Regions from separate parts of the Homo sapiens genome. Here region 2 is linked to region 1. The links are contacts of gene promoters, found by promoter capture Hi-C in blood cells and fetal thymus (Javierre and others, 2016). All regions are on one chromosome and are shown on one strand. Each heading gives the region's core, a stretch centred on a gene start or on the middle of the fragment in contact. The rest is flanking DNA. Distances are from core to core; before and after follow the strand shown.

Region 1 (5,667 bases), core at 1,648-4,147:
GACCAGAACGGTAAAAGAGGAATTGGCAAGTCAGCAGTGAATTATATTACTGAGGTAATGGGTCTTAAAAGAAACAAAATAGCAAGAGTGCTTCTAGGGTTAAACTTTCCTAAGAGCAAACATGAGACAAACAAGGTGCCTGTCTTTACTAGCCAAGAATTATCATACTAGAATGCTTTCAGCTCAGTATTCCCATCCACCTGTACTCCTCTGACACTGGAGCACCATAGAAACACTCAGATAGAATTCCCACAGGTAAAGGATCCCTTCCAGCAGCTCTGCCAGGGGATATATGTCTTCAGCCATCTGAGGGAACACTTTGGAATCTCAAGAGATACGTAAGTTTATATAAAATGGGTGTTTATAAGCAACAAAACTATTTCCTCTTACCACTAACATGGGGAAATTTCCATATTGGCACATATTTATATGAAAAGCAGAGATGTTTTTCTATGAAAATCACCTTTTAAAAAAAAATTTGTCCTGACTTGTGTATTTTCCTTTGTAGTGATTACATTGCCTTCCTCCTTTTTTTTTTTGGCCCTCATATACAGAGACTATGGAAGAGAGTACCTGGATCTAGTTTATTCCAAAGACAGACAAGCAGTTTGTGCCTCCACTCCAGGATGACTAACTACAACGATTACACGTAAAAAGACAAAACAAGGCCGGGCGCGGCGGTTCACGCTTGTAATCCCAGCACTTTGGGAGGCCGAGGCAGGCGTATTACGAGGTCAGGAGATCGAGACCTTCCTGGCTAAGACGGTGAATCCCCGTCTCTACTAAAAATACAAAAAATTAGCCGGACATGGTGGCGGGCGCCTGTAGTTTCAGCTACTCGGGAGACTGAAGCAGGAGAATGGCGTGAACCCGAGAGGCGGAGCTTGCAGTGAGCTGAGATCGCGCCACTGCACTCCAGCCTGGGCGACAGAGCGAGACTCCGTCTCAAAAAAAAAAGAAAAAGAAAAAGAAAAAAAAAAAAACCTTGCTACACTAAGTTCCTGAGGGCCAAGGAAAGCCATTTAGATCTTTGGGTTTCATTTGCTTCACTTAAGCATCTTTATTTTTGCACTTGAACGTCTGGCAGAGCATTTTGATGATGATGATGCACAAATACTACGAATAAATGGATGCGTGACTAGCTAAATAGAACACAAGATTTTGAAAGACTTGAGTCAAAAACAGTAGGCAAATCAAAGAAGCAATCCCAAACAGATGCTATCTTTCAGAAATTAACAGATTATTTCACCTGCAACATATTCCCATCCTAGAAAGGGCATTCCTGCATTACAATCATTTATGCTTGGATAAAGGCAAAACGAACAGATGTCCAAGAACCACCCTCATTACCTGAGGCCTATGGCAGAAACATGTCTCCTTTCTTGGAGTCTGAGTAGACTTGATCAAAATCACCCACAGGTATAAATTCACATTATAATATCACACACCAAAGCCTCAGTGAATATCTTTATCTTGGACAAACATATGATCCATTCACTTAAAGGTGAAATCATGTGGTTGAACAAAGTATACTGCAATTCTGCTAAACTCATTTAGAAGCTGGCTCAAGGCCGGGTGCGGTGGCTCACGCCTGTAATCCCAGCACTTTGGGAGGCAGAGGCGGGCGGATCACTTGAGGTCAGGAGTTACAGACCAGCCTGGCCAACATGGCGAAACCCCGTCTCTACTAAAAATACAAAAAGTAGCCGGGCGTGGTGGCGCGTGCCTGTAATTCCAGCTACTCGGGAGGCTGAGGCAGGAGAATCGCTTCAACAGGGGAGGCGGAGGTCGCGGTAAGCCGAGATCGTGCCATTGCACGCCAGCCTGGGCAACAAGAGCGAAACTCTGTCTCAAAAAAAAAAAAAAAAAAAAGAAAAGAAAAAAGAATCTGGCTCAATATAGCTGTCCTCTGATAAAGCCCTGTGGCTCTCCTCCATCCCTTCGAACACACTCCTCCTTCCATTTCAGGCCCCAAGGCCTGTTCTGCAACTAATCTGACATCTTTCCATTACTTTGGAAGCCTAGGGCTCCACCACACCCTATCCCAACCAGATTTCTACCCTCCTACCAACAAACGTGCATGAGTTGACATACCAAACCAACTCTTAGGGCCAAACTAATCCTGTTCCCCCCAATTCTCGGAAACTCAAGCGTCCTAACAAATCTTAAGAGTCTGATGAGTCCATTCCTTTCCCTTGGAACGTCTGGCCCTTGCGTTGACCCCTCGGCTTCCATGGTCACAACTAGCTCTGGTTCTCCTGGCCCCTTCCTATCCCTCTCTTCGGGGCCTCTGCCAGAGCTCACACTGAACCTGTTTCCTCATCTGTAGGACCCTTGGAGGTTGGGAGGAGGCCTATATGACCCCCCCAATCCAACTCCGGATCTAACATTGAAGGGGCCCAGCATTCCCCTAGACCCTCACTCTTTCTCTTGCCCACGCCCCAAACTCCTTCTCCATCTAGGCTACCACCTCGCCCACGCGCCTAGCATCACCCGCCGCGGCCCAAGCTCCCCCAGCCCCTGCTTCCGGGCTTTCCTTGCAGTTCTGCTTCCGGCCCTCGGCCCTTCCCACAGCGGGGCGCCCCCGGCCCGCGCCCGGCCCCCGAGCCGCTCGCTCCCGGGCTCTCACCGCTCGAAGAGCAGCCTCACGAAGAAGATGCCCGCCGCCAGCGGGAACACCGAGAGGATGTGCCGGCCGCGGGGGTAACCGTAGCCGTCGGCCGGCCCCTCCAGATCAGCCCAGCTCACGTTCTCGGGTAGCCAGAAGCGCTCGCTCCACAGCCAGCCCCACAGCAAGCTTAGGGGTCCCTGCGCTGCTGTCGCCATCTTACGCCCACCCCGAAGCCACCGCCGCCACAAGCGTCAGCTGCCGCCACAGCCAACGGAACCCGCGGGGAGGCGGCCCCAGGGCGGGGCCCGGCCGGCGGCCACCCCCTTCCGGCCCCTTCTGGTCACTGCCACGGATCCGCCCGCCTCCCTGGCAGGGCCGGGCCTCTTCACCGCCCATCTCTCCTCCCGGCCCACTTCCCTCACTGCAACCCGGGGACCGCCTCCGGGGATCCACGCCCCTTCCCGAGCCTCTGACTCGCCCAGCCCGGCCCTGGGACCACGCCTCGGGCGGCCCTGGGCCCGCCCTCTTTTGCTGCTGGTCTAGGCCACGCTTCTACTCCTCCCTCACTCTTCCATCCAGCTACGGCCACACCCCTTATTTCAGGCCTAGCTCCTTTACGGGGACATTCTCCTTTCTCAGCCTGTTGGAATCGAATCCGTTCCGGCTCCCACCCAGGCGGTACCTCTGTCTCCACTCCCGGAGGCCAGATCGATCTCTCAGGTCAGGGCTTCTCTTGGATGTCAGCTGGTCCTGCCCACTACTGTCCGCCACTAGAGTTCTTTTCGCTCCCAACCTTTTCTTCCCTTCGTGCCCCGTGACCTCAGCCTACTTTCACTGCTTTATCCCTTAAAAATTAGTCACTTTTCCTCAGAAAAAATGGACTTAACAGTTTACAAAAGGCCGGGCGCGGTGGCTCACGCCTGTAATCCCAGCACTTTCAGAGGCCGAGGCTGGCGGATCACCTGAGGTCAGGAGTTCGAGACCAGCCTGGCCAACATGGCAAAACCCCGTCTCTACTAAAAATACAAAAATTAGCTGGGCCTGGTGGCGCTGTGCCTGTAATCCCAGCTACTCGGAAAGCTGGGACAGGAGAATCGCTTGAACCTGGGAGGCGGAGGTCGCAGTGAGCCGAAATCGCGCCATTGCACTCCAGCCTGGGCGACAGACCAAAGACTCCGTCCCAAAATAAAAATAAAAAAAGTTTACAAAAATCCTTTTATTCTTCTCTTGGGGAAAAGGAAATGGAAGAAAAACAAAGTGAAAAGGGAAGCACTCAAAAAGTATACGTAAAGGCAGGCCGGGTGTGGTGGCTCACGCCTGTAATCCCAGCACGTTGGAAGGCCAAGGCGGAAGAATCACCTGAGGTAAGGAGTTCGAGACCAGGCTGGCCATGGTGAAACCCCGTCCCTACTAAAAATACAAAAATTACCCGGGTGTGGTGGTGCATGCCTGTAATCCTAGCTACTCGGGAGGCTGAGGCAGGAGAATTGCTTGAGGCGGAGATCACAGTGAGCCGAGACCACGCCATTGCCCTCCAGCCTAGGCAACAGAGCGTCTCAAAACAAAAACAAACAAAAAAAGGCCGGGCGCGGCTCACGCCTGTAATCCCAACACTTTGGGAGGCCGAGGCGGGCGGATCATGAGGTCAGGAGATCGAGACCATCCTGGCTAACACGGTGAAACCCCATCTCTATTAAAATACAAAAAATTAGCCAGGCATGGTGGCGGGCGCCTGTAGTCCCAGCTACTTGGGAGGCTCAGGCAGGAGAATGGCGTGAACCCGGGAGGCGGAGCTTGCAGTGAGCCCAGATTGCGCCACTACACTCCAGCCTGGGCGACAAAGTGAGACTCGTCTCAAAAAAAAAAAAAAAAAAAGTATATCTAAAGGACCTAAAGGCAAAACAAAATAAATAGCCAATGTTTGATGAGGTTTCCTGTGTGCCAGGCACTGCATGGAACATTTTACACAGGTTATTTCACTCCTTCACCCTATAAAGTTGATCTTGTTATCCCCACTGGATAAGTAAACTGAGGTCCAGTGAGGCCAAACAACTTGCCCAAAGTTATGTAGGTAAGAAGTGGTAGCTAGTGTTAAGTCAAGTTTAATCTAAAGCTGCCTCCTTACATATTTAAGTTCGGCCTAAAGGTTTTCTGTACATTGTGAACTGTAACAAGTGGAGGTGTAAATCGAACGTAGACCACACCAGTGCCAATCACTGAATTTTGGCCAATCAAATGTAGCCAACTGTTCCAACCACGTTCAAATGAGACAAACGCTGATCTGTAACCAATCTGGTTGTTTCTGTACCTCACTTTCATTTTGCTGTCCATAAATCTTCCACCACGTGAATATGCTGGGTCTCTGTGGATATGCTGGGTCTCTCTGAATCTGCTGTGATTCAGGGGCTGCCCAATTTGAGAATCATACATTGCTCAAACTCCTTTAGGCTGGGCACGGTGGCTCACGCCTGTAATCCTAGCACTTTGGGAGGCCGAGGCAGGCGGATCACAGGTCAGGAGATCGAGACCATCCTGGCTAACATGGTGAAACTCCGTCTCTACTAAAAATACAAAAATTAGCTGGGCGTGGTGGTGCGTGTCTGTAGTCCCAGTTACTTGGGAAGCTGAGGCAAGAGAATCGCTTGAACCCAGGAGGCGGAGGTTGCAGTGAGCTGAGATAGCACCACTGCACTCTATCCTGGGCAACGGAGTGAGACTTTGTCTTGGAAAGAAAAAACAAAACAAACAAACAAACAAAAAACTCCTTTAAATTTGGCTGTTTTGTTTGTTTGCATGTTTTTTTGTGAGAAGGAGTCTCACACCCAGGCTGGAGCGCAGTGGTGCCATTTCTGCTCACTGCAACCTCCACCTCTGGGTTCAAGAGATCCTCCCTTCTCAGCCTCCCGAGTAGCTGGGACTACAGACACGTGCCACCACACCCGACTAATTTTTGTATTTTTTGATAGAGCCTGGGGTTTCACCATGTTGGCCAGGCTGGTCTCGAACTCCTGACTTCAAGTGATCTGCCTGTCTCAGTATCCCTGTTGGGAATGAAG
Region 2 (5,667 bases), core at 2,296-4,795, 170 kb after region 1:
GATTATAACCTAAGAGTCATGCTTATTCAACTTAATGGTTACATTTGGTTTAATAACTGTTTTCCATAAACTCGTGCTCATGATATATGACTTTATACTGTATACATCAAATAGTAATATTTTTCTTAATATTTTCCTGTATTATAGAATTTTAAATGTCTTATTTTATGCTGTCTGCCACCTGGACAAATTTGTGAATTAACACTACTTTTTTTTTTTTTTTTGAGACAGAGTCTCACTCTATTGCCCAGGCTGGAGTGCAGTGGCACAATCTGGGCTCACTGCAACCTCCACCTCCTGGGCTCAAGCAATTCTCCTGTCTCAGCCTCTGAGTAGCTGGGATTACAGACGTACACCATCATGCCCAGCTAATGTTGTATTTTTAGTAGAGACAGGGTTTCACTATGTTGGCCAGGTTGGTCTGAAACTCCTGACCTCAGGCGATCCACCCGCCTCGGCCTCCCAAAGTGTTGGGATTACAGGCATGAGCCACCACACCTGGCCTAACACTACTTCTTACGTGAGGACTTAGATTTCACCAAAATAAATCAGACTGCTCCTGTGAACTCTTGCAGATTAACAAAAGTTCGATTTTCTAAATTCTTGATTTAGAATATTAAATAATTATCTGTCCTGAAAGAGTTAATGCAGACTCTAAAGCCCTTATTTCCTCTGGAATAATTTCTAGTGGTTTAAGTGAGAATCTGGTTCAACAGATTTTGGAAATGTGGAGTCATCTCTTCAGTGTATCCTAGGAAGTAAACACCTAATTTACTCAATTTGGGTCTAGATATGATAATTGCACTTAAGCTCATGTCACTGAATCATAATATGGAGAAAAGCATTCTACAATGGTCTTTCTGGTACTTCTATTAACAAATCCCCAAGGATGGAATTAAAAGTGGACCTATCTAGTGTTAGATTAGATTCATGGTATTATAACTGGTTTTTTGTTTGTTTTACATTATTCAGTGGTGACATCTATAGGCCTATGATTAGAAACACTAACAGACTAATGCTGAATTTACCTGTACTATTTTATGACTGGTGTGAGTCTAACCTCATACCAAACATTACTTTTGGTTGATGTACCTGGTGCTACAGGAGAAAGTCAAGTTAGGGAACCAAAAGGTATATGATCAAAGGCCCAATTACCAGAGTGCTTCCAGTCCATAACTTACCGTGATTGGAGGGATGCAAGAGATTTTCGGAAGGTAGACTGCACTTCTAACTGAAGCAGCCTGGGAATATCTGGGTACCCACCCAGCTGGGCCCAGAGTGAATGCATAGATGTCTTCTCTGCTATTGGGTAGCTTGAAGTGGACAGATCAACATTCCAGATGGCCTCTGTCTGGTCCTCTTGTTGCCTACAGAATCAGCATAAATTGGGAACGCCAAATTCTCCTGAGCTCCATAGCCCATCAAAATATATCTTATTCTCCCCTCTTCACTGCCACCTTGTCCTATAATGCCTTCCCCTTGCACTGACCAGCATTAGCTATGCCCACTTTGACAGAGAGATGGATGAAAAAGCAGAATTCGCTGAGTTACCAAAGCTGCATTTGCATGGCTTCACCTAGTAATCCATTTTAAAACTACCATTTTAGCTTCATGGCGTAGAGAGACCACATAACTTGCCCCCTTCCTTCCCAAAGCTCCTGCCTCCTTAAAAAAAAATAGAAGAAAAAGAGAAGATAATGCTTCTAAGTTTCTTTATTAAATATTCTTAAAAGAATTTGTTTTTTAGTAAGAAAGAATCAGCTTTATTTTTAGAGGAACTCACAATCCAATGTTAAATATTTAAGTAGAAATATATGTAAATTAACCTCTTGCCAATTTAGCTAAGGGAATTAATACTCTTTTTTTTTGAGACAGAGTTTCGCTGTTGCCCAGGCTGGAGTGCAATGGCACGATCTCGGCTCACCGCAACCTCTGCCACCCAGGTTCAAGCGATTCTCCTGTCTCAGCCTCCCAACTAGCTGGGATTACAGGCATGCACCACTATGCCGGGCTAATTTTGTACTTTTTTTAGTAGAGATGGGGTTTCTCCATGTTAGTCAGGCTGGTCTTGAACTCCCGACCTCAGATGAGTCACCTGCCTCGGCCTCCCAAAGTGCTGGGATTACAGGCATGAGCCACCGCGCCCAGCCTAATACTCCTTTAGACTCTCCATTGCACCATTTGATAATTGTGGAGAAAGGGAAGTTCTTGGGCAGGGAAAAAAAAATTAGGTCCCACATATCGTCCAAAGTTTAATATCAGTCTTTCTAGCACATACCTAAATTTCTTGCATATGTCAGAGGTTCTGTCCTCTTCCATTAGTAATTTTAAGAATGGCTTTTGAACAAATGTGGTAGAGGCAGGTATCTGCTTTTCTTCGATGATTAAGGGGATAGGTTGACTAAGATTCAATTCATGTATCTTTTTGAGCTATAAAAAAAAATAGATCAGAAAAAGGAAACCATGAAAAGAGACAGAATCTTTAGAAGGGTCTTCAGAGCTGGCCCTAGACTAAACTGTGACTCCTCCTTTTCCATGGATTTGCAAATCCTCTCCCTACTCCACCCACCTCCAACATGCATCATTTTAGAGGTGGCAGCTCTGCTACATAAAAACCTTTGTCCTACTTAAGCTTAAGTCCTGGTCCTCTTATTTTCTTGCTGTGAGACTTTGGGATAGTTGCTTAATTTATCTGCACTTCTTTCTCCTCATTTCTAAAACAGGGATAATAACACAGGGTTGTGAGAATTGTAAAACACAGTATATATGGAAGCACTTTATAAATTGTGATGCAGTATGCAACTGTAATGATAGCCAGCATTTACTAAATACTTAGTGAATGTCAGACACTGAACTAAGCATTTTCCATATATTAGCTGATTTGGTATTTATAACAACCTTATGCGGTATGTCTTATAATTACCCTTGTCTTACAGCAGGAAAATCTGAGGCTCAGAAAATGTAAGCGGCTTGCATAAAGTCACTTAGCTAGTATGTAGCTAGCCTGATTTGAACCCAGACAATCTGGTAGCGGAGCTAGCCATCTTGACCACCATGCTGATTCAGTGCAAAGTATTCATTCATATCTAACCTCTTATCCCTTTTGCTTTTTTTGTCTCCTTTCTCCAAGCCTTGATACCCATACCTCATCCTCTGGATTCTGGCTTCCCTGGCCCCAGACCCTTATTCCTCCTCTGAAATGCCCTAGGCATTGTGATTCCTGTTAGATAACGCATGTTGCTGCCAACCCATCTTGCTTTACTCTATGTACATTGGCCATATTTGCCAAATCAAAAAAAGGAGAATATTCATTTTTTTGACAAAGAGCTGTAATATTTAAAATATAACTGTTCTGGGCCGGGCACGGTGGCTCAAGCCTCTATCCCAGCACTTTGGGAGGCTGCCATGGGCGGTTCACTTGAGGTCAGGAGTCCAAGACCAGCCTGGCCAACATGGTGAAACCCCATCTCTACTAAAAATACAAAAATTAACCAGACATGGTGGCAGGCACCTGTAATCCCAACTACTCGGGAGGGTGAGGCAGGAGAATCACTTGAACCCAGGAGGCGGAGGTTGCAGTGAGCCGAGATCACGCCACTGCACTCCAGCCTGGGTGACACAGTGAGACCTCATCTCAAAAATAAATAAATAAATAAATAATAAAATAAAATATAACAGTTCTGAAAATTTACAATATATGTTTGACTTGGATTAGGCTCTGATGAGAAGCCTCTCTGTACCTTCCAAAGTAGCAAGTAAACTAATCTTATAAATTAATCGATTTTAAGGAAAGACAAGGATATACAGATATAAAATGTTTCTAGAACCACAGCTTGTAATATTTACTATAAGAACTCAGGCCAGGCGTGGTGGCTCACGCCTGTAATCCCAACACTTTGGGAGGTTGAGGCGGGTGGATCACCTGAGGTCAGGAATTCGAAACCAGCCTGGCCAACATGGTGAAACCCCATCTCTACTAAAAATATAAAATTTAGCTGGGCATGGTGGTGGGCGCCTGTAATCCCATCTACTCGGGAGGCTGAATCAGGAGAATCTCTTGAATCCAGGAGGTGGAGTTTGCACCGAGTCGAAATAGTGCCACTGTACTCCCTGGGAGACAGAGCAAGACTGTCTCAAAAAAACGAAAAACAAAGCAAAACAAAAAAAAAGGCCATTTGAAAGATGGAGGCGGAGATTGGAATTATGTGGCTACAAACTGAGGAATGCTAAGGATTGCCCATAGCCACCACAATCTAGGAGAGAAGCATGCAACAGAATGCCCTCTCAGAGCTTCTAGAAGGAACCAACCTGGCAGACACCCTGATTTCACTAACTTCTGGCCTCTAGAACTGTGAGAGAGTAAATTTCTGTTGTTTTAAGCTATGAAGTTTGTGGTAATTTGTTACAGCAGCCCAGGAAAGTAATATGACATGGTGTCTCCAGGTAAATGTCATTTACAAAGCTTACCACTTTCATGTTTTTACAACATGCTGGACAGAGGGAGTGGAAAGCAGGTTACCTGGTTGAATACGTGTATCATTTTCTTCAGGCACTGATTCCGTTTCTGCCCTAGAGACTTCTGCTTCTCAGTCCAGACCTGCATCACCTTTTTCCCGTAGTCATCAAGTCTGCTCAGCATCATGTGGAGGTTCCTGGCCTCATAGCCTTTCCCAGTATTTTGGATGGCTTTTAGTCGTTTCATTATGTTGTTCCTTGAAAAGATTAATAAAAATTAGAGCGATAATAGTTGCAGACCCTACTTCAACAAACTTGTCCTCAGTTTCTTTTTTTTTTTTGAGACGGAGTTTCGATCTTGTTGCCCAGGCTGGAGGTGCAATGGTGCAATCATGGCTTATTGCAACCTCCACCTCCTGGATTCAAGAAATTATCCTGCCTCAGCTTCCTGAGTAGCTGGGACTACAGGTGCGCACCACCATGCCCAGCTAATTTTTGTATTTTTAGTAGAGACGGGGTTTCTCCATGTTGGTCAGGCTGGTCTCAAACTCCTGACCTCGTGATCCACTTTCCTTGTCCTCCCAAAGTGCTGGGATTACAGTCCTGAGCCACTGAGCATGGCCTCTTTTTAATTTAATTTTATTTTTTTGAGACAGAGTCTCACTCTGTTGCCCAGGCTGGAGTGCAGTGGTGTGATCTTGACTCACTGCAACCTCTGCCTCATGGGTTCAAGCGATTCTCATGCCTCAGCCTCCCAAGTAGCTGGGAATACAGGTGTGCACCACCACGCCCAGCTAATTTTTGTATTTTTAGTAGAGATGGGGTTTTGCCATGTTGTCCAGGCTGGTCTTGAACTCTTGACCTCAAGCGATCCTCCTGCCACAGCCTCCCAAAATGTTGGGATTACAGGAGTGAGCCACTATGCCCAACCTGTCCTCAGTTTCTTTCAATTCTCTCATCATCCCCAGTAAGTAGAGAAGGATGGGAAGCTTGCTTAATAAGACTTTAATCCAGTTCCTATGAATGAACCTTCAAAAATCTATATGATTATCAAAATTTTCATTAAGTCTTCACAAAATTTCCAGTGTTAAAATAGTGTTGCTTACAATTATTTTAATATATTTTAAAAATTATGCCAGGTGAAGTGGCTCATGCCTGTAATCCCAGCACTTTGGGAGGCTGAGGTGGGAGGATCGCTTGAGGCCAGGAGTC

What was found. Contacts are between HindIII fragments. The CHiCAGO score rates a contact against its expected background, and 5 or more counts as called.
Region 2: a contact is called between a fragment that was not itself captured here and the fragment with the promoter of CERS5 in region 1, in 2 of 17 cell types (M1 macrophages and M2 macrophages). The highest score is 6.3, in M1 macrophages.

Annotation. Positions count from the first base shown.
Region 1 is chr12:50,164,472-50,170,138 of GRCh38, forward strand. CERS5 (ceramide synthase 5) reads right to left here and starts at 2,898. Exons shown (of 10, transcript NM_147190.5): 1 at 2,630-2,898. The coding sequence starts at 2,826. It overlaps LOC124902931 (a long non-coding RNA gene), which reads left to right. Exons shown (of 2, transcript XR_007063304.1): 2 at 555-1,152. RefSeq lists enhancers at 2,245-2,384, 3,275-3,434, 3,486-4,247 and silencers at 2,525-2,674, 2,775-3,174. The HindIII fragment of the contact is 9,101 bases long and covers 2,796-5,667 here.
Region 2 is chr12:50,329,392-50,335,058 of GRCh38, forward strand. FAM186A (family with sequence similarity 186 member A) reads right to left here. Exons shown (of 8, transcript NM_001145475.3): 5 at 4,520-4,712; 6 at 2,279-2,430; 7 at 1,182-1,367. Among named protein-coding and RNA genes, the nearest start is that of LIMA1, 49 kb to the left of the region's middle. The HindIII fragment of the contact is 1,830 bases long and covers 2,631-4,460 here.